Linked DNA regions of Homo sapiens: all the other regions are linked to region 7. Evidence: promoter capture Hi-C in 16 types of primary human blood cells and fetal thymus (Javierre and others, 2016). All regions are on one chromosome and are shown on one strand. Each heading gives the region's core, a stretch centred on a gene start or on the middle of the fragment in contact. The rest is flanking DNA. Distances are from core to core; before and after follow the strand shown.

The links. The method cuts DNA at HindIII sites, captures the fragments that hold promoters and counts their contacts. A CHiCAGO score of 5 or more calls a contact.
Region 1: a contact is called between a fragment that was not itself captured here and the fragment with the promoter of BCL11A in region 7, in 1 of 17 cell types (megakaryocytes). The highest score is 6.1, in megakaryocytes.
Region 2: a contact is called between a fragment that was not itself captured here and the fragment with the promoter of BCL11A in region 7, in 1 of 17 cell types (naive B cells). The highest score is 5.1, in naive B cells.
Region 3: a contact is called between a fragment that was not itself captured here and the fragment with the promoter of BCL11A in region 7, in 2 of 17 cell types (endothelial precursors and megakaryocytes). The highest score is 10.9, in endothelial precursors.
Region 4: a fragment that was not itself captured here is called in contact with the fragment with the promoter of BCL11A in region 7 in 1 of 17 cell types (megakaryocytes); the score reaches 5.3 in megakaryocytes.
Region 5: a fragment that was not itself captured here is called in contact with the fragment with the promoter of BCL11A in region 7 in 2 of 17 cell types (megakaryocytes and M1 macrophages); the score reaches 6.1 in megakaryocytes.
Region 6: a contact is called between a fragment that was not itself captured here and the fragment with the promoter of BCL11A in region 7, in 1 of 17 cell types (endothelial precursors). The highest score is 5.7, in endothelial precursors.

What each region holds. Positions count from the first base shown.
Region 1 is chr2:58,904,940-58,907,866 of GRCh38, reverse strand. All of the region lies in intron 3 of LINC01122 (long intergenic non-protein coding RNA 1122), which reads right to left. Among named protein-coding and RNA genes, the nearest start is that of LINC01793, 310 kb to the left of the region's middle. The HindIII fragment of the contact is 5,186 bases long and covers 1-2,927 here.
Region 2 is chr2:59,020,881-59,023,934 of GRCh38, reverse strand. It overlaps LINC01122 (long intergenic non-protein coding RNA 1122), which reads right to left. Exons shown (of 14, transcript NR_033873.1): 10 at 953-979. Among named protein-coding and RNA genes, the nearest start is that of LINC01793, 200 kb to the left of the region's middle. The HindIII fragment of the contact is 2,453 bases long and covers 27-2,479 here.
Region 3 is chr2:58,971,060-58,973,985 of GRCh38, reverse strand. All of the region lies in intron 6 of LINC01122 (long intergenic non-protein coding RNA 1122), which reads right to left. Among named protein-coding and RNA genes, the nearest start is that of LINC01793, 250 kb to the left of the region's middle. RefSeq lists an enhancer at 592-2,216. The HindIII fragment of the contact is 1,904 bases long and covers 349-2,252 here.
Region 4 is chr2:59,323,433-59,326,582 of GRCh38, reverse strand. All of the region lies in intron 2 of LOC105374754 (a long non-coding RNA gene), which reads left to right. Among named protein-coding and RNA genes, the nearest start is that of LINC01793, 110 kb to the right of the region's middle. The HindIII fragment of the contact is 6,474 bases long and covers 1-3,150 here.
Region 5 is chr2:58,877,964-58,881,266 of GRCh38, reverse strand. The region is part of intron 3 of LINC01122 (long intergenic non-protein coding RNA 1122); the gene reads right to left. Among named protein-coding and RNA genes, the nearest start is that of LINC01793, 340 kb to the left of the region's middle. The HindIII fragment of the contact is 3,843 bases long and covers 1-3,297 here.
Region 6 is chr2:58,570,091-58,573,279 of GRCh38, reverse strand. The region is part of intron 1 of LINC01122 (long intergenic non-protein coding RNA 1122); the gene reads right to left. Among named protein-coding and RNA genes, the nearest start is that of LINC01122, 51 kb to the right of the region's middle. RefSeq lists an enhancer at 1-686. The HindIII fragment of the contact is 1,461 bases long and covers 971-2,431 here.
Region 7 is chr2:60,551,754-60,555,026 of GRCh38, reverse strand. It overlaps BCL11A (BCL11 transcription factor A), which reads left to right and starts at 1,373. Exons shown (of 4, transcript NM_022893.4): 1 at 1,373-1,811. The coding sequence starts at 1,757. RefSeq lists an enhancer at 64-113 and silencers at 804-893, 2,303-2,662, 3,183-3,242. The HindIII fragment of the contact is 6,342 bases long and covers 1-3,273 here.

The DNA.
Region 1 (2,927 bases), core at 118-2,617, 1.6 Mb after region 7:
TCTTTATAAGTAGCACCATGGAAACCAAAAGTACTGTACTACTTCGGTCTTTCCCTGGTTGAACTCAAAGAAAGAATTTCCATCCATAGTGCATAAAGAAGAAGCATGCCTTCCTTGTGTTCATCCCTTTTTTCTTATAAATGTTTTCTTAATGATTAAAATCCTGGATTAGTATCTATCAATTACTGACCCTTAAATCAGAATTGGAGATTCATAAGCTGCCAGTCTTAGAGGTAACCACGAGACTCTTCCCAAATCACTAATAACTCTCATTGCTTGGAGACTGCCTCTAGATATCATTCTAGAGATAGAATTTGTTCCTGGGGATTTTGCTCTGCTTGTCCATGATCTTGAACTATAGGACCTTATTCTTGCCCTTAGATGACACATGATTCCATCTAAATAGGTAAAATGAGGTGCAAAGGGAAGAAAATCTACCAGTAGAACATACTTGAAACATTTGGAATCTATGGGCCTGATTCCCAGAAATCTGAATTAAAATGAGATTTGAAATGAGAAAAAAATGTTGATGTTTCTAATCATTCTAATAAAATTATCTAGCTTCTGCTAGATCATTTTTTATACCAAGAGCTGTGCTCTATTCTATATGGAATAGACTACGCTAAGCTGGATAAAATATGTCACCTTAGGCACCTGAATTAATAGTTTGGTTATGTACTCGGTTAAGTCTTTACTATAGATCACCATAAGTATGCTAGGCAGACAATTCTCTAGAGCTAACATTTTAAAAAGGTGCCAAAGCCTCTTTGAGATCTGTGTGAATTATCCAGATTCAGGGAAAAAAATGTTAAATATACTGCGCTTTTCTACCCCCCTCATTTCTTAGTTGCATTGAATAAGTAAAATTGCAGCAAAGTTGGCAAGAATAAATACTTCCTCGGTTTTTCTAAAGCTGCAATTAATGATAATGAAGCTATACCTTATATGGCAAGAAATACAGTACAAACTGGATAAGTAAGAAAAATGATCAGCCATTGTGTGCCTCCGATATAGTACATCAAGGTATCGCCACTGTGAGGCTATCTTTATTTTAAACCATTAAACAAAACAATATAAATCTGCAGGCAGGTGTTTCTTGTTGCAGAAGTATTGAAAGTTGTAATGCAAACAATCTAATTTTAGCATCTATGTAGAGTGTGAAGTAAATTTACTGATCACTGATGCATTGAGCATAGGAAGAAACAATCAGCAGGAGCTTTCAGCAAGATTATCCTATTAAAGCAGGAAGACTTCACGTGGTTGTTAAGGAAGTAGTCAAAAGCAGGTGATGGAAGTGGGGGTTTGACGACTCGTCAGTGGGCCCAGTGTACATGTTAAGTTGTTGTTTTCTGCTCAGCTAAGCAGCAGAGAATTGATATGTTAGCAATGAAGTGCAATGACAATTAAATTGTAACTGACCTACATGTTACCGTCATTACGCGTTCTCTTTTTTACTGCTTTCCCTCTTATTTAATCACACAGTATGGGGTTTTTATTAGGCTGTAATGTTAAAATCTTCATCCATTTAGCCATAAATGTGTGACTGGATATCTATCAGACTTCCTTGCACTATACAAACAAAGCCATTTTGCTGAATCACTGTTGACTTGTTTGTGGCCTAATTTAATGAGTGTAATAACTTACATTACTATCCAGTTAACATTTAGGAGCCCAGAAAAGACCTGCTAGCACGCAGTAAGCTACTGTATACATTCTCTATTCATATCACTCCCCTTTGCAGTAAATTTTATACAATAATATGCACTGCTTACAACATAAGCTCAGCTTCCATCAGCTGAGGATAGCACTCTAGTAAGTTCACTGTGCTCAGCCTGAAATGCTTCCTACACATGGGAACCAACCAATATGATTCTCTTTTTCTGGATACTATAGTGGCTATATCTTCATCCCTTATAAACATAATAAACACAGGTTATATAACCTGCAGACAAAGATAGTTTCGCCTTTCTTCCCATTTGTCTTACTGATATTTTAAGCCTCTTCCCACCCCCAAACTCGGGAATGAAAAATAGTTACTCAAGGAGAGGGAAATAGAAACCATTGTCAATTAAACAAAATAGAGTAGAGTTCCAGGATAAAATATAAAAGCAGTAAGTCAACAAATAAACTGGGTTGTCCCTGTTTATATGTATATGATTAAACTGTCCATGATCTTGAATATGCACTATTTTATATTTCCCTGTACTAAAGTTACCCATCCTCCCATTTGACCCACACACATCTATTTGCTGTCTTGCTAAATGTTTCTTTAACACAATCATATTGAAATTTATCTGTGTTTCCATTACATTACTTTGAAACAAAGATTTAAGAAAATCTTTGTCACTTGACTTTGCCTTAGCCATTTAACTAGCACCTGACAATTCAGTGAATCACCAAAAAAAACTCATTACTTTCATACTAATTTTATGCACAGATGACACAATCAAAGCTCTTCACTTGCCCAAAATAATCATCATTTAAGAAGAAATACATACACATACACACAGAGTTGACAATTTACAAACAAGCACTTCCACATCGAGAGATTTGGAAGAGATGGACCTTAGTTTTTCTTTCCCCTTTCAGAGCAGCATTACTTCATTGTTTGAGTCAAGATTTAAGCCTTTAATTACTATCCATTACACAATATCTCAGATTGACATTATAATCTTAGAAGTTACCAATAATAGGGTGGGAAAAAAATTATAGATGGAAGAGATAGTTCTACATTTTATTCCTTTTCATGAAATAGGCAGAGGCAACCTTCAGGCTTCTCATCCCAGGAGAAAATGCATTATTCTGGACAAGTGGGAGTTTACTTTGGTTTTCATAAACGATGGGCTACGTAAAATTTTTAGATGCTAATTAGGACCTCTATGTCTGTAGGTGTATCGACTCTCCAAAAAAAGCATTTTATTGACAAC
Region 2 (3,054 bases), core at 4-2,503, 1.5 Mb after region 7:
TAACTCTTTTTGGGTCCCACAAAGCTTTATGATACTTATGTTAACTTGTACTAATTTGTAAATCCTTGCCACCAATTTGATGCTTATTCACATAATCTAAAGGGTCATACTTGTGCAAGACTACCAGAATAGTAATTCTATTCTTAACTCTATAAGAAACAGAAGCAAACTACTCCAGCAAGTAATAGGTAATATATAATACATAAAATCCAATATTCCCTGAACTTTCAAAATTCCAAGACATCCAATACATTCATTGTGTGTACACAGGACTACCAAGCACATCCATGGCAACTCTGAGGCAGTGAGCTAAGAGAATCAGACCCAAAGTTAACAATGCTCAGAAAGTTAGGGTGACCATGGGTCCTTATATATTTAATATCTTTCTTTGTAAACACTTAACTATGAAGGCCATCCCTGGAATACATTTCTCTTAGTTACACATTTTAAGCACAGGCAAAAACTGAGACTTCTACCTGACCCTCTTTCAACACTTTCCAGAGACAGCCTCAGTGGGTGTATATGCCTTCTCACCTAAATAAAAGTATCAATAAGAGTCAACAGAAAATACAGAGAGATTTAAAATAAAAGTAATAACTCAAGGGTTCATATAGCAAATACACCAGATTTTTTTAAGATGACAACCATTATATGTTAACTTTCCTGAATTCTCCACATAACTCAAGATAACTTGGGTTGTTTTAACATAAAGGGATAATATAGTTTAAAAAACCACAGAGTGACAGAAATAAAATCACTTATAATTACACATTATTTTATCAACATTTCCTTAAAATATTTGTAAAACATCTTGCTCACATGATGGTTACTATACGAGACATTGTAGATTTTTCTCTCAATGAGGCAGAGAAGTTCACCATTTAAGAGTCTAGATTTAGGAGCCAAGGCCACCTGCCACTTACCACTTATATGGCTTGAACAATTTACTTACCCTTGCTCTGTGCCTCAGTTTCTGCATCTGTAAAATAGAGATAAAAATAATGTATGCCTAATGAAGTTATTATAAGGATTTAGTAAATTAATAAGCATGAGGCAATTAGAACATGCATGAGAAGTACTAAGCACTCAATTTATAATGGCTATTATCATTATTGCCCTTATAATATGTGTAGGTTGGCTTATCTATGGTCATATTACAATTTATTCAAGAATAGACTTCTTTAAAGTCACCATCCAGAGGATCTGAAAGCCAAGTTTTAGTCTCCAACTTAAGATATGCTTTCTTAAAAACACATTTAAAAAAGAAAAAGCATTCAGAGGACTTGAAAACATAAACTTACTCGTTATACTTTGACAACACACACACACACACACACAAACACAGAATAGTAACACCTCACAGCTCATTGCCAGAAGTTCCCACACAGGGGATTTGCCATAAAGAAAGCTAAATGTGACCCAATATTCTAGTGAGAGATCTCACCATTCAGAGCAGAATAACCTGAGAACAAAATAATGCAAAAAGCAGCCCGAGGTTCCTTTGTCTTTCCTCAGGTAAAATCAATTCCGTTATTATCCACAGTTGGGTACAGAATGGCAGATGAGCAGCATGGCTTCATCCAGCGATACCTCTCAGAGAGTGGACTGCATGGGTAATATCTCACACCCTGGTTCACTCAGCGTTGTCAAGAGAGAAAGGGGGAGATCCATTTTAGGTACGGAAATTCATTCTAAGGAACTATTAAGACATTAGAGAAGAAAAAAGGGAAGAAAAATCAGGCCAAATTCATACAGAAACACAGATTCCAGCCTGCCCCTATCCTCAGACAGAGAGGTCAAGGTGATGGGCGATATTGCCAGGCCCACTATCTTTCTCTCTACTCTTTTGTAGTGGGATGGTTTAGCCATATTTCCTATGTGTGGCAAGGAAATGAACCATGCACATGATGCTGCACAGCAAAGTGAAACAGAAAAAGGTTCTCAAAGAAAGTAGGCAGACATGAATGTAGAATTGTGTAACCCAAGAAATAGACCAACAAGGATGGAAAGTAAGAAAATGACTAGGTCTTTCTTAAAACTGCAACAATTAGGCAATTGAGCTAACTAATAGGATCTGAGAAGATGTAAATAAGTTTTCTTTTTTTTATTAACAAAAGAAATGAGGAGGCAAATTTCAGCCCAGATGAAAGAAGGTAAATGATTCCTCCCCAAAGGCAGAGCCAAGATTTCTCAAATGAGTTTCCTCCTAAAAGAGGCAGAAGTAAAATATATGACTCCAGATGACATAATGTGCTGTGGCCTAAATGTAGGCAGTGATAGTATCCTATTCTACAGGACAAGCTATGGGTAATTGAATGCAAGGCAAAGCAAAAATATAGAAAAGGCCACTCTGAAACAGAAACATAAAAATGCAGTGTGTGTAACAGTACTGAGAAGGGTACAGCTTTGTAGAACTGATTAATAAGGAGAGCGGTGAATAGAACAGAGTGGATTTGCAGAGATTAGGATGTAGCAAGCTTTGTCCAGAAGATTGTATAAAGTTCTTATTGGCCTTGAATCTAAAATAAGGTTAAAAAAAAAAAAAAAAGGCCAGGCGCAGTGGCTCACGCCTATAATCCCAGCACTTTGGGAGGCTGAGACGGGCGGATCATGATGTCAAGTGATGGAGACCATTCGGGCCAACATGGTGAAACCCCATCTCTACCAAAAATACAAAAATTAGCTGGGCGTGGTGGTGCGTGCCTGTAGTCCCAACTACTTGGGAGGCTGAGGCAGGAGAATCATTGAACCCGGGAGGCGGATGTTGCAGTGAGCCAAGATCACACCACTGAACTCCAGCCTGGTGACAGAGCGAGACTCCATCTCAAAAAACAAAAAAAAAAGAAAAAAAAAGAAAAAACCTACCTCCCATCAGGAAAGACCCCCTGTAAGCTTTTGGTATATCTTAGTCAAAAAACTTACCTTTTCCCATGTGCTATTTAAAAAATAAAATTTACAATAATTGTAAATATTTGTAAAATTATAAATGACGTGCCATCAAATTTACTATAATGTGGAAATCATTCCCTCTGACATCTCTCCTGGAAGAGAGTA
Region 3 (2,926 bases), core at 51-2,550, 1.6 Mb after region 7:
TTGAGCCTGCAAAGAAGCTATGCAGTTGCACAAAGTAAGATGTTAGGACTTGTAAACATGTCATACAATATTATAATATGCCTGTGGGCACGGTTAAGTACAAAGGTTGGGCGGGCCTGGAGATACAAAGGCTGGCCTTTCTGTGGAGCTGTCTTAACGTACATTATTTTTTAGAGACAGCACAATGGGTATTAACTTGCATAAAGAAGCTAACTCCCATTCTTAAACTAGCTAGCCCTACAGTGCTCTTCAAGAGGGCTAAAATTTCAATGGCTATAGAGTGAAATAAAAAAAAAAAAAAAAAAAAGCACAACACCCTCATCTGATGCTGCATAGTGATGGAAAGCTTTGCTCCCACCAAAAAGGGTTCCCATTCCCGCCCTGGTTCTAAGACTGACTTTGACGCCCTGGGTGCATTCAAAAACCAAGATAATTTGGGTAAAGGAGCAAAAGTTCTGTTTGTTGTTGGCCTAGCCTCCAAATCTTTGGGCAAATTGAAATAGACCTGGCTGGTCCTTTTTCTACCAAAAAGTACCCCTTAAATATTATTTTTGTTAGTATTGGAGAGTCCTGTGATTCTAGACTATTATATCTAACGCCTGCCTATTGCTTTAGGCAGAATTAAGATGGAGTTGGGGGTTGAGTAATAAGATCCACTTGCATCAACCTTATTTCTTGTCTTAGAGATGAGATAGAAATTGATGAATTGGAGGAGGAAGTGCAGTGTTTCCTTCTCTCCCCTCTCAATCCCACCTTCCTTTCTTTTTCCCCCCTTCCTTCCTCCCCACCTTACTGACTTCTCTTCCTTCCTTCCTCCCTGACCTTCCTTCCTTCCTTCTTTTGTCATTAAACACAGTACCATTTACCTTCTACAAGAAATCTGATGGAATTTAATCTACAACATGGTTCCAGACCGGAAGTACAGCTGTGCAGCAGAAAGGGGGCAATGGGGGAGGTGATATTTTATAACACAAAACAGGCAGGACTACTCTGGACAGAAGATAATGCAAACTAGGTTTGCTGGAAATGAGCTGCAAAATACCTTCATTTTCTACTACAGTGAAACCCTGATAAAATCACAACTGTTAAGGTCATACAGTATATCAGGTGGAATCACAGTCTTTAGAACTCCATTATTAATGCAGACAACCTCACAATCAAAGAGGATGAGAGCACAGTTTCCAGATGCCAATGATTTGATCATATCTTATTTGGCTGTTTACATTTAAATAATGTGACTGTATAAATTTAAATAATATGAACCACCAACAGACAGATCCCAGTGAAAAACTGCCCCTTCTCTGAGACCCTGAATGTACACTATACAGCACCTTACAATCTATTTGAGCAGAGCTCATATTTTTTAAAAAATGGGGAGGGGATAAAAAAAGAGAGACTCATTTCTTCTGCCATTATGGAAATAAAAGGACTACCGCTTTAGTTCGTGGCTGGCTGTGCCAAGGAAACATGCAGTTCTCTAACCTCCGGTACGATGTACCCATAAGGTACCAAGCATCAAAGCATATTAAAAGATATTAACTGCATATTTGCTTATGAACAAGATAAAAAGCTGTAGGGCCTCCAGGTTCTCAAGCTGTGAGTGGAACAGCTTTGCAATTTGCCTGCAAAACTGCATTTTGATCTTAATGAATATAAAATGGCTGCCATTAAAAGTAAAACAGATTATTTCGGGTCTTCCAGGGCCCATAGCTCTTTGCTGGCCTTGGAGGGCCACTATGATCTTTCATTAAAATCTCACAGCAGGGCTCCCTCACCAGCAAATCAAGCCTTGCAGTCTAGGAGATTGGCTACATTTAAAAGTAATTTTCAGAAATCTACACAGATTTTCAATTTGGTAATGAAAGCCATAAGAGAATGCAGGCGGCATTTTGTCGAATATTGTTACTGATCCAGCACTCACATTCGTTAGAAATTAAACTGCCCCGTAACTATCACACTGATGGCAGCTTGCCATTTCGGCTGCGTTCTAATCTCCGTTTGTTAATGAGTAGCATGTGCTAATTGTTGTCATCCTTACTGCCGAGCAGTCCTTCCCTAACAAACATATTTTACCTGCTCAGAGGTGGAACCTTACGCTTTGTCACAGAGCGGGTTGGAATGGAGTGTTGAGATTGCAGCTGTGTTGTAAAGGGAGGCAGCCCAGCATTGTGAGACAAGGCAAGAGAGAATATGATTTGAAATTGGGTGCGTTTGTATTATTTGAATCCGTCAGTTTGTTTTTCACTCAAGCTTAACTTTTCTAAAGTCCTGGAGTCAGCAAAATGTTAATACTTTTGTGTTACTCCCAAGAGCAGTTTGAACAAACCCACAAAATCTGAGCACAACTAAGGTGAAATCAATTGGAATTAAAATGAGGGAGAGGCTTCAGGTAAGAAGGCATGAACATACCAAGGACCTCACCTACTAGCCAGTCAGGGAGGAGAGCCACCCCTCAAACCTAACGTGGATGTGGGGCTGCCACTGGCTTTCAAGAGAAAGTTCGATTCTTTAACTCCATCACTTCGGTCCTAAAGGCTGGGAGGTGGAGGCCATTGCATTACTCTCAAGTGGATAGTCCTAAGGGAATAATCATATGGACCCACGATAATGTGGTTCCAAGGAGAGCGGGCACCAGAGAAGAGGAAACACTAATAAATTCAGCATCCTGACGTGTGCTGCAGGCAGACATTTGAAAAAAGAAAAGCATATGAAATGATTATGAATAAAACATTATTAAATACAAGAAAATGTACATAAATGCATTCTAAGACCAAATGGGTTTTTTTGTTTGTTTGTTCGTTTTTGCCTTTGCATGTCCTCCTACCTGATATAAGAACTGAGGAAAGTTATTTTTCTGAGATCCGAGAAACAAAAATGTCAGATTATGCTTCCCTATTGGAAAATGCATTCAATAAATTTTCTTTAC
Region 4 (3,150 bases), core at 377-2,876, 1.2 Mb after region 7:
ACCCGATTTTCCAGGTGCCATCTGTCACCCCTTTCTTTGACTAGGGAAGGGAATTCCCTGACCCCGTGCACTTCTCGGGTGAGGTGATGCCTTGCCCTGCTTCGGCTTGCACACTGTGTGCTGCACCCACTCTCCTGCACCCACTGTCTTGCACACCCCAGTGAGATGAACCCGGTACCTCAGTTGGAAATGCAGAAATCACCCGTCTTCTGCGTCACTCACACTGGGAGCTGTAGACCGGAGCTGTTCCTATTCGGCCATCTTGGCTCCTTCCCATCTATGTCTTCTTCATAAAGAACGTGATTTATGACTCCTTGGCCTCTATAAATTTCTTATGTATCATGTAGTTATACCTTTCTCAAAATTCAAGGAGAGTTTTTTGTTTGAATGTTCTGAGATTTGTGAATAAGCAAATGTAATGTATGCTAATGTGCCACATTCTCTTTAAGAAGAATACCATATAATATGTTCTTTCTGGGTAATTTCTGAATGTTGTTTCATATCGAGTGGGTTCTGGCTGCAGTGTTAGCATGTTCAAGGAATTTGGATTGGTAACTTTTGTGGAATCATTTGTATAGTCATATTATTTAATAGGAAATATATTAGAGTTCTACAGTCAATATTTTACAGGCAACTTGAGAAAGACATTTTCTAGTAAAATTTAGTAAAGTTAATAAGCTGTTTTTATTAGTTTTATTGAGTTTTAAATAGGTAAGACATACGCATTGCTCAAAACTTACAAGGTAGAAAATGGCATTGAGTGAAAAGTAAGTTTCCATCTCTCTTTTGACCACCCAACCACCCACTATTCCATCTAGGGCAAACATTTTGCCAATTTCTTGACTATCATTTTGGATATAGCCTTCAAGAAATGTTCTATACATTTACCTGCAGTCGATATGTGTGTGTGTGTGTGTGTTTACACAAATGTTTATAAGATATAAATACATTTCTGTAACTTAATTTTATTACCTAATGTATTTTGGAATCTTTCCATATTCATGCATGTGGAGACAAGCTATTTTTCTTAATAGCTATAGATTCTTTCATTGTACAGACATATTGTAAGTGCTTTTTAAAAATTATATTACCAGATAACCCTTCCTTTCATAGATAGTTTGGAAATTTGAAAAAAATTATAAAATCTACTTCTGGATCACCAGATTATATCTATTATCTTATAAATATCAACAGAATAAGGATTTTATTCTCGGCATTTTCTGTGAATAGGGTGGTTCTCTTTCCTGCTCATTTATCCAAATATTTCTGAATACATTCTTATAATTTAAATATTAACAACATCTAACAAAAACTTATATCTGAGATAAATGAATATCCACATGTAGAAGATGAATTTGGACCCCTGCATCACATCATACACAAAAATGGACTCAAAGTAGATCATAGACCTACATATAAAAGCTAAAGCTATAAAACTCAGAAGAAAATATGAGAGTAAATCTTTGTATGTTGGGTTTGGCAATGACTTTTTAGATATGCCACCAAAAGCACAAGTGATAAAAGAGAAGACTGACAAATGGAACTTCCTCAAAATTAAAAATGTTTTGCTTTAAAGGACTTCAAAAGAAAGTAAAAAGATAACCTATGTACTGAGAAAATATTTGCAAATAATGTATCTGATAAGGGACTTGTGTGCAGAATATATAAAATACTCTTACAAATCAACAAATACCACGTTCTCACTTATAAGTGGGAGCTAAATGATAAGAACACATGGACACGTAGAGAGAAACAACACACACTGGAGCCTTTTGGAGGGTGGAGGTGGGAGGAGGGAGAAGATCAGGAAAAATAACTAATGGGTACTAGGCTTAATTCCTGGGTAATGAAATAATCTGTAAAACAAACCCCCATGACACAAGTTTACCTATGTAACAAACCTGCACTTGTACCCCTGAACTTAAAAAGTATTTGTTAAAAAAGACAAATGATCCAATTAAAAATAGGCAAAATATTTAAATAGATATTTTTAGAGGTGATATACAAATTGTGAATACACATAAAATGATGCTCAGTACCATTAGTCACTAGGTAGACAGCAAATCATAACAAGATACCACTTCAAAACCTCCAATCAAAATGACAAGCAATAATAACAAGTATGGGTGAGGACGTGAGAAATTGGAAGTATACACTGCTAAAAGAAATATAAGGTAGTGCAGGTACTTTGCTAAAAGAAATATAAGGTAAACATATACCTTATATACTTTGCTGAAAGAAATACATTGCTAAAAGAAATATACACTGCTAAAAGAAATATAAGGTAGTGCAGCTACTTTGGAGAACAGTTTTCGAGTGTCTGAAATGTTAAATATAGAGTTATCATATAATCCAGGTAATCCATCTGATATCTTTTTGTGTATCCTCTAAAATTTTTTTGATATTAAATATTTTTAAATCTCTTAATTTCTCCCCAAAGGATCTTAACTTCTAAAATTCCCATTGAACCTCCACCAAGCTCTTCAAATTCTCTACACCGCCCTAGGTATATAACCAAGAAAAATAAAAACATATGTCTACAGAAAAACTTGTACACAAATGTTCACATTAGTATTATTCATGATAGCCAAAAGTAGAAACAACCCAAATGCCCATCGACTGATGAATGGATAAATAAAACATGATATATCCACACAATGGATATTATTTGGCAATATAAAAAATGAAGTATTGATACATGCTACAACATGGATGAACCATGAAAGCATTATGCTATGAAAGAAGCTAGTCACAAAACACCGTGCCTTATATGAAACCTTTTATTAAAAATGTCCCAATAGGAAAATCTACAGAGATAGAAAAGAGATTAGTAGTCACCTAGAACTGGGGATGGGGGAGTTAGAGTAAGTGCTATTTGGTTTGTGTTTTCCTTTGGGCATATTAAAAATATTACGATTATGGTGATGGTTGCATAACTCTGCAAATGCACTAAAAATCATTGAATTGTACATATTAAGTGGGTGAACCTCATGGTATGTACATTTTATCTCAACAAAGCTGTTTAAAAGTAAAAACAAAAAATGAAATCTATCTTTTTTCCTGTGCAACATGTGTCCATGCCCCATATCCCAAAAGCACTAGGTCCAGACATGTTCACAAGAAACTTTAAGGAGTGGAAAATTCCAATAC
Region 5 (3,303 bases), core at 127-2,626, 1.7 Mb after region 7:
AAGAACTGGTAATTCTTTAATGGTTGTTCACTTACAAGCGATTGTGGGTCATTACACAATCATTTAAAGGGCATTAATGAGAACCATTTAATGGTTTTAGTAGAATATCATTGTAAGGGACAGGGGAAAAGTTACTGGCTGTAAATTTTTATGACCATTTCTTACAAAACGTATTACTTTAAAGATTTATGTATGTAACAATGAGTACAATAAAAGCCATGCTAAAAATAATTTGAAATCAAAGTAATGCATATAGATAAGTCTTTGCTCTGCTGCCATTGGGTAGGCCTTTAAAAAAAAAACCTTCCTTTTCACCTTCCTTATCCTCTTTGTGTGTGTGTGTGTGTGTGTGTGTGTGAGAGAGAGAGAGAGAGAGAGACAGAGAGAGAGAGAGAGAGAGAGAGAGTCTTGCCCTGTTGCCCAGGCTGGAGTGCAATGGCACAATCTTGCTCACTGCAACCTCCACCTCCAGGGTTCAAATGATTCTCTTGCCTCAGCCTCCTGAGTAGCTGGGATTACAGGCACCCGCCACAACATCCAGCTAATTTTTGTATTTTTAGTAGAGACGGGGTTTCACCATATTGGCCAGGCTTGTGTCAAACTCCTGACCTCGTGATCTGCCCTCCTCGGCCTCCCAAAGTGCTGGGATTACAGGCATGGGCCTCTGCACCCGGCCTCCTTCTCCTCTTTCCTCTCCTTCTTCCTTCCTCCTTCCCTGCCTCCCACCCTTCCTCACTCTTTCCATTTTCTTTCTTAAAGAACACTTCAGTACTATGAAAGATTTTGTTTTAATGAAAATGATTAGAGATTGAAATACTAATTAAAATGTTTTCTAGTTGGAGGGCAGGGTAGACAAAGAGGTAAATATAGCAGCACCGCATTGCATAGAAATGCCTAGATGTAGTGAATCTTTGTTTACAGACCTTTCTTCAATATATCATTAGTTCAAACTATTTCCTGTTATATACCATAGGACTAAAATAGAATATCCAATACTTTCTAGGACATCAATCCCTGAGGTAGGACAGGGAACTAAAAAAGAACTAGTCCTGGTAGGATAGCCATGAAGATCTGTAAAATACAGACAGAAATCATCCTCACGTGTGCACAGAGGAGCAACATACATCTTGCTCCGTGTAGCTCATCTCTTGAAAAGAAACGGGTATTTGAGAAGCTCACTCTACTGAGGGAGTAACCTTATTAAAGTGCTTTAATAACACAACAGTCATCATATTATGCCTGGTTTTGTCCACTTATGATTCTTGTGGAATACATAATGAATAAGACAATGCCCCTTTCCCAGTATTCTTGCATAAGCAGGGAGAATATTTCTAATTAAAAAGGCAGAGTTAGTACAGCACATGAAATGAACAGAACCATATCTCTCGAAATGCTGAGATTTTACTATTTGCATTGTCACACTTGTATTTCTTTCTGAATCTAGCCCAATGCCCATTACCAATAAGATGAAGATTTAAGATAACTTGGTCAAAAGATGGTGAATTACAACTTTTAATTAAAATGTGGAAAATAGTTGCTTTAAAATAAACATGATAATACTTTCATGACCATTAATTTTTTATGGAGAGAACAACAAAAGCAACCTGAATATTTTAGAATGTGATATTATAAAGTCAGACAAAGGGGATTTTTAGAAAGTTATGGATGTCCCAGAGAGATGCTTGTGCACCTGCTATTCTTCATTTCTAGTGCCCTTGGAAACCCCAGCAGAATGCAACCCATACATCTGGACCCACAGTGATTTATTTACTTGACTGTACTCAGGTAAAGCCAATGATGACCATGATGATAAGATAGTAGGAAACTTTGGGGTTGACACAGCATATTTACATCAAAGAACAATTCAATAAATATTAATTGATAATAGGGAGAAGAAGAGCTGATTTCTTAATGTGACCTGTAAATATTAATATAAAATACAATTTTTATAAATCTAATATAGGGTTTAAATATTATTGATACTATGTTGTAGATTGAATATAGCAATATGATTGAAAGATTGGTGATTTGTTTGAGTGTGCACTATGGTTCACTTCACCATCATTAGTTCATATTCATGCAGACTTAGCTTCACACTTTCTACCATTGTTTCTAACTCTTCCCCTAAATAAATGTCCTATTACCATTAAGTCTTCTCTGACTGAATATGTGTGCAGAGTCATCTCTCCATCATTTTATTCAAGCCAATTTCTGCCAGGAATTACCCTGATTTCTCCCTGCCCACATACTGTCTGTCTGGATCAGCACACCCCTTCCAGGAAGCCTTCCTTGATTACTCTTACTAAAGGCCTGGCTTCAAAAATCTAAATCTACCCCTGCATACTTAGGTGAACCATGGTAGGAGTCACTGAGGAGCCAGGATTGTTCACCTTCTGGCAGGCCAGGCATTCTTTTGGATCAGTTGTCATCTTCATCCATAAAATAAGGAAATAATCATGTCTGCCTTGTAAGGCGGGTGTGATAATTACATAAAACACACATAAAAAAGCATCTGGAACAGCTTAGTTTCATAATAAATGTTTTACTTCCTTGTCTCTTTCCTTACCTCTTGAATTCAGAGAAATTTCTAAGCCATTCAGATATAGTAACTTATTATATTTACTTACTTTCTTGTAACTTTCAATTTTTATTTTGTGGCCCTTCGTTTTCCATTATGTCTCCCAATTAGTCTATGATTCCCCAAAGGAAGGGACCCTTATTTATGTATCCTCATATTCCCTGCCTCATCTAGTGTAGTTCCATATGCACAGTTAGGATCAATAAATATCTACGAGAATTAATATTAATCACTTTCTCCAGTGTTTGCATCAAATTTTAATTTTCATAAAAGCCCCAAATTCTGAACAATGTATTCTACTTTTGCATCTTCTGCTATACTGTACATGACTGAATTTACATACAGGGTGGTGAGGGAGGCATCAAACTGTTTTCAGGTAATTTCTTATCACCTGAGCTGGACAGCCATGTTAGGTAACACGTGGTACTAACAAATCCAAGATTATACATTTGATTCTAATGTGAGTGTGTTTATTTTGCAGAATGAAATTTTCTATACCTAAGAACTTCGTTTTTGTACTGCTGGGAAAGTGTCAGAAAATAAAAATAAAAGAGTGCTAATGATCCCAAGATGGTCTTAGGAAGTGAGCAGTGAGAATCAACACAAACAGGAAAAATAAAAATTAAGCTCCATACATTATGGATGGAAAGAAGATACCTGTGTTGTCTTGGTAGTCAAAGGGCAGTGCATTTTAACATTCACCATTTAACTTACAAGCTTCTTCC
Region 6 (3,189 bases), core at 452-2,951, 2.0 Mb after region 7:
ACTTCTTTCCTTCCCCCTCCACTCATTAGGGCCTTTTTCAAGCACATGGCTGCTGCAGATGTCCCTGAGAGAACATTTTGTTTCCCCCCTGCATCCAGGCTCAAACACCTGGGCTCTGACATGACGTCCAGTGGAGGCTATTTTCTTTCTCCTTTTTTAAACTTTCCTTTTATTTGGTTTGCATACAAGGCTAATAATGAGGTTTAAAAAACTATACACAATCAGTATACAATTACACTCATCGGGAGCCTGACATGTAATTTCTGATAAACCCATATAACTATGAACAGCAAAAGGAACCACAGAGCGCACACAATGTGTGGGGTCATCAGAACACAATGCCAACACAATCTCTGCGTCATGTCTTGTTGCATAGTATTAATCAGTGCAAACATTGTTTGGGAAATGAGAGGGGAGAGAAAGAGCAGTTTCCCAGCTGCTAGTGCTTTGCCATCAAATCTGATAGTCAGTTCCATGGAATATAAGAAACTTCAGTAATAAAGCTTAGGACCAAATAATGACTCTTGAAGACAGACTACTTAAATTATTCAAAATGAAATCAAATAATAACTCCTTATATATAATCCCAACTCTCCTGATAATTTCACATCAGACATTTCTTTAGCAACTTGTGTATTTTCATAAATTTAGAAAACGTATTTGCATCTTTAACAGGCCACAATTGGCGGGTACTGAACATCCACATTATCCAAATGATCAGTGTTACTGGTTAGTTAATTGCTACAATTTTGATTTATTTCAAATTTTTTATTTCTATATGTTGAAACATAATTATTTTTCTGTTGATTGTTATAGGTAAAGGACACAATAAGGTTTCATTAAGAAAGAATTATCCAGGACCACAAGATGACAGGCTGGGTCACTAGGGAGCACAATGCAATACTATTGTCAATACTATCGATATGTCTTAGGAAAAGTCAGTCTGGGAAATGCAGAAATGTCACAAGCTTTGTTTTACCTTCATTTTAATAGAGCATAGCATGACCTATATGGGAGGGGTTGACTACTTCAATTAGGTTTATGCTATTTTCAATAGGACTTCCAATCAGTGCATTTAGCTGGAAAGCAATTCCTGGCTTTATTATTACTGTTGTCATCCTTAAAATGCATTCTATTTATTTTTTTAATTTACCAGGAGGGGCAAAGGGAAGATGGGAGCAATAAAGAAAAAGGAGCCAGTAACATGCCCTCAGGGACCAATAGCAAAAGGAGAAGAATCATAGGGGAAGAGAGATAGGAGATGAAAATGAAAGACGTATCTTATTAAACCATCATAATTAAGAAGTAATAGGTATTCATAAAGAGACCCATGCCCAAAGGCCTGAAGATGTCTACAGTAGCAAGGGCCAATGTTTTCTAATAAGTAATAATTAACAAATAATCCACAATAAAAAGCAAATGGGACCCCACAAGAATGAGAAGGCAGAAATCTGCCTTCTTACAATTCCCCCCCGCCCTTCATAGTTTAGTGTGAACAGACCTAAACTGAAACACTAAAGAAAAGGAAAATTGGTGACCTCTTTTCAACAACAAGTAAATTCTGACACACACAGAAGTAAAAAGCATTTGATAACAGAGCACCTCATTCTCATCACCTGTAGCTTAAATACGGGATGGTGCCAGCTCTGAACCCTGAGATTACAAAGGCTGCCAGAGATCCAAGGGAATCGGGGCCTGATGATGAAACTGACCCCACATTATTTATTTCGGCACAAGACAGGAATTAATTGGATGGATTTTCCCTTAGCTCCTGCACTTTTTAAGTTAGCTGGACCTAAGACAAGGCTGAAGGGAAGGAGGAATACATTTGGTCCTTGGACACCCCCTAGTGTCTGTACTAGCACAAAAACCACTCGCAGGTATATCCCTTCCTTTCCTGCTATCCGGAACATGAGGGCCAAGATTGGCTCCTCAAGGCGGAAGTCCCAAGACTGCAGCCTCGACGGAAATCTACTTTCCCCTCAGGTCAGGAGGCCAAGTGTCAGACTCCTAACCCCTTTTGGATACTTTCTAGAATTTCTGTTTGCCAGTAACTTCGTGTCAATGTGTTGTAGTTTGTCTCAAGAAAATGTGAAAAATTATAGGTGGAGCCAGGAGGGGCCTATAATTTGCTTCAAGAAAAGAAAAAACAAAAAACCAGATGAATTTCAGTCAATACACTAGATGCAAAATGAAAAAGGGAAATGGAAGAAAAATCTGTTTCGGAGAATATATGGTAGTTTGTCTTCTATAGATAACTTGTGAGTGTTTGAATAAGCATTGTGATGTATTTATGTTTACCCATGTGATTGGATGTGAATACTGAATAAAGTCTGGGAAGACTGCTTGCCACTTCTCTCAGTCAGCGGTTCTTTGAGCAATATTCCATTTGTGTAATGAAGATATAATTTAAAAGTGGCTTAGAAAAGCTTTAGTGTAAGCGCCTTTGAAAGTTCCCATACAAATTATATGTGACTTCCTTTCCATCTAGGTAAATAAATTGTGTGTGTGCATAGGTGTGTGTCCCAGGATATCTGTGGACTAGGCTTCTGTGTTAAAATATTACTAAAATTATGAAGTATTACAATGAGTTTTATCCACTGTCATCTCAAAAGTATAAATGTCTCAGAATGTCATTACTATGTTTGGCTGTTGTAATTACCCAAATCTGCCCCAATACTGACCACAGTTCTAAGGAAACCATCATATATAGTTTTTTGTAGCATAACGCTTTTGCTCAACTGTTTTCAGGAAGCGGTCCATCATTCTATTAAATTTTGCAGCATATATTATGGCAATATAAACTACTTTTTCTTGCTGCATCTGAGAGGGTTGTACTGGAATTTATGCAAGGTCTGACCTTCACAGAATCATACAACTTTAGAGGCCAAGGGTCCTGAGAGACCACCTAATTCACATTCTTATTTAAGGAATGCATTGTTCAAAGTGATTTCATGACTTCCTCAGAGCCATGTGGCCAAGCTGCCAAAGAAGTTCTGCACCCAGCCCGTTTTGGGTCACTGATGTTTCTAAGCATAAAATTCTTTAAGAGGAGCCTGATAGACATGAATATGTCATCTGTGGCTAGACATGGGAAGCCTGACTGTAATATGGGCACCCTCCAAGTTAGGGACACATCTTCTGAAAGGAGAGGGTGTCCCAGGCAGCTCCTACAGTCCCCGGGAAAAG
Region 7 (3,273 bases), core at 124-2,623:
GGCGAGAGGGGGCTGCTGGCTCCTGGGTGTGCGCCTTGGCCGGCGGCGCCTGGGGAGCGCGGCGGTGACCCGAGGCGGTCATCTCACCACCGTGGTCTCCCCGCTGCTCCTGCGAGCCTGTCGCTCTCTCTCCATTCCCATTTTCTCTTTCCCTGGGTAACAGCACAGGAACAGTTGTGCTCTGCCCGTAAGAAACATTTTCTTCCCATCCCTCTGTGCTTTTGCAGTTGCTCTGGAGTGGGAGGGGGTGTGTCCCTCCCAGGGACCCGGCTCGGGGACCTCCCGCGGCGCCGTGAGCACATTCCCAGGGACTGGGACTCCCGGGACTGCCCGCGCTTTGTCCTCGGCCTCTCAGAGAGGTGGACGCCTCGGTGCCTCTCTTGCCCAGGCCCCCGGCGCTCCCCTCCGGGGGCCAGACTCTGGCTCCTCGTTCTTTATTCCTCGGGCTCTCTTTCTGCGACCCTTAGGAGCCGGGGACTCGGCGCTTTCAGTTGCATTCAGACCCAGTCGCTTGGCGGGGCGCTCAGATTCCCGGTCCCTGGCTCGGCCTTGGGGGCGCCCTCGGGCCCCGGCCTGCGCCGCCTGCCTCTCCCCGGTCCCCTCTTTCCAGGCCGCGCGGGCTCCTGGAGACTTGGGCGCTGCCCTTCCGGACCCGCAGCCCTCCAAACTTAGGCTGGATTCCGCGTTGCCGTGCGCTCCCTCCCACCTCCCCTCGCCCGCTGCGGAGCTGTAACTTGGAGGCTCAGCTCTCAACTTCGGGTGATTTTTCTTTGCTGTCCTCTCCTCGGGCAAAGTTTCCCGAGCGCAGCCGCGGGCTCGGGGCTTTTACTTCGGCCCCTGGCGTCCACACGCGGGGAGCGAGCGCGGCGGCGGCGGGGAGGGGAAGTGGGTGTGCGTACGGAGGAGGGTGTCCGGGAGCAACTCTACCTGGCTTCCCTCCGCCCGCGCTTCCCCAGCCCGGGGCTGCAGCCTCCCGGTGCACTCTCGCTCTATTTTTTTCTTTTTTGAATAATCTTTCATTTTAGAGTCCGCGTGTGTGGGGGGGAGCAGGGCGCACGTCTTGCTCCCCCCCACCCTTTCCTCCCACCCCTGCCACCCCTTTCTTCTCTCCCGGCCACGCCACCGCCGCGGCGCTCGCTGCGGCCACTGGTGAGCCCGCGGCCCCAGCGCCCCCTCCCCTCGGCCCGCCCCTCCCCCGGGGGCCGCGTCTGGCGTCCGCGGAGCCCCCCGCCCCGCACCTCCCCCTCCCCGCACTGGCCATTGGCTTGTCCTGGTCTCTTTTTCATGTCCAGCCCCTGATGTGTGTCCATTGGTGTGAGCTTCCCCTTCCCTCCTCCCCTTCTCTCCTGCTCGCCCTGCCCATGTTTTGTGTGTCTCTGTCCATCCAGACTCCTGACGTTCAAGTTCGCAGGGACGTCACGTCCGCACTTGAACTTGCAGCTCAGGGGGGCTTTTGCCATTTTTTTCATCTCTCTCTCTCTCTCTCCCTCTATCTCTCTTCTCTCTCTCTCCCTCTTTTTTTTTTTTTTTTTTTTTTTTTTTTTGCTTAAAAAAAAGCCATGACGGCTCTCCCACAATTCATCTTCCCTGCGCCATCTTTGTATTATTTCTAATTTATTTTGGATGTCAAAAGGCACTGATGAAGATATTTTCTCTGGAGTCTCCTTCTTTCTAACCCGGCTCTCCCGATGTGAACCGAGCCGTCGTCCGCCCGCCGCCGCCGCCGCCGCCGCCGCCGCCCGCCCCGCAGCCCACCATGTCTCGCCGCAAGCAAGGCAAACCCCAGCACTTAAGCAAACGGGAATTCTCGCGTAAGTAACCCAATAATAGTAATAATAATTATTAATAATCACGAGAGCGCGCAGGACTAGAAGCAAAAGCGAGGGGGAGAGAGGGGTGTGTGCATGCATTTTTAAATTTTTCACGAGAAAAACCTCCGAGAGTCGAGGTAAAAGAGATAAAGGGGGAAAAAACCCTCATCCCATCTGGAACCATTGCCGTGTATGCACTTTTGAGACAGCACGCACCTTTTAATTTTATTTAATTTTACAAAAATTTGACTCCTCCTCTTTCCTCCTTTCCGCCGCTTTATTTCTCTTTTCGAAAAGGAATGCAATGATTCCACTCCCCCCCCGCCCCGCCAGTTTTGCAAAATAATGAACAATGCTAAGGTTGCGAACAACTCACATGCAAACCTGGGGGTGGGAGCTGGTGGGGAAAGGGAGGTTGCTTCCCACTCACCGTAAGAAAATGGGGGGGTAGGGAGGGAGTGAGTACAAGTCTAAAAAACGATTCCCGGGGAGAAAAGAGGTGAGACTGGCTTTTGGACACCAGCGCGCTCACGGTCAAGTGTGCAGCGGGAGGAAAGTAGTCATCCCCACAATAGTGAGAAAGTGGCACTGTGGAAAGGGGCCCCCGGCGCTCCTGAGTCCGCGGAGTCGGGAGAGGGGCCGCGGCGACGGGGAGAGCCGTGGGACCGGGAAGGACGGGAGACGCGGCCGGCACTGCCGCCTTTTGTTCCGGCCAGAGGTGGGTGTTTGTCCCGCTGCCTTTTGTGCCGGCTCCTCGCGCTTGCCCTCCCGCGCCGCCGCCGCCGCCGCCGCCGAAGGGCAGGAGCTAGGGCCGGGGGAGGAGGCGGCCGGGGGCACGCGGGAGAGGGAGGGAGGGAGCCCGGACTGCTGCCTCCTGGGTTGCCGCTGCCCTCCCCTCCCGACCGAACCTCAGAGGCAGCAAGGAGAAGACTGGCACATAAATAAATAAATACATAAAAATAAAATAAATAAAACAAGGCAAGAGAATGTACAATTTCTTGCCCCCAAACCGAAGCCAAACGCTCTGCCAACCCTTTTCTGTGACGGCCTTCTCTTTGACTCCCCCACCAGCCCCCCTGCAAAAATCTCACAATCTCTCATCTAGAAAAAAATTTACAATCACCCTCTTCCCCCAAACCCCTTCAGTTGCAAACTTAGGGCGCCGACGGCACGGAGAGGGAGAGAGGAACTCCCTCCTCTTACTATTTTTTGGAAGATTTTCAAAAAAAGTGGAAGTGGATTTTGATTGGGAAAAATCTCGTGTCTGAATGTTTACAAGCACCGCGTGTGCGGGAGCCTCCTGCCAACAAACAGACAGAGGACCGAGCGCGGCGCGGCAGCCCCGGAGCAGGCGGCGGCGGCGGCCTGGCCTCGCCCGGGCCTTGCCCGACCTCGCCGCGCCCCAGCCCAGCCCCGGATCGCCCACCCGGCGCCCGGCGCCCACCCGCCAGGCACGGCGGCA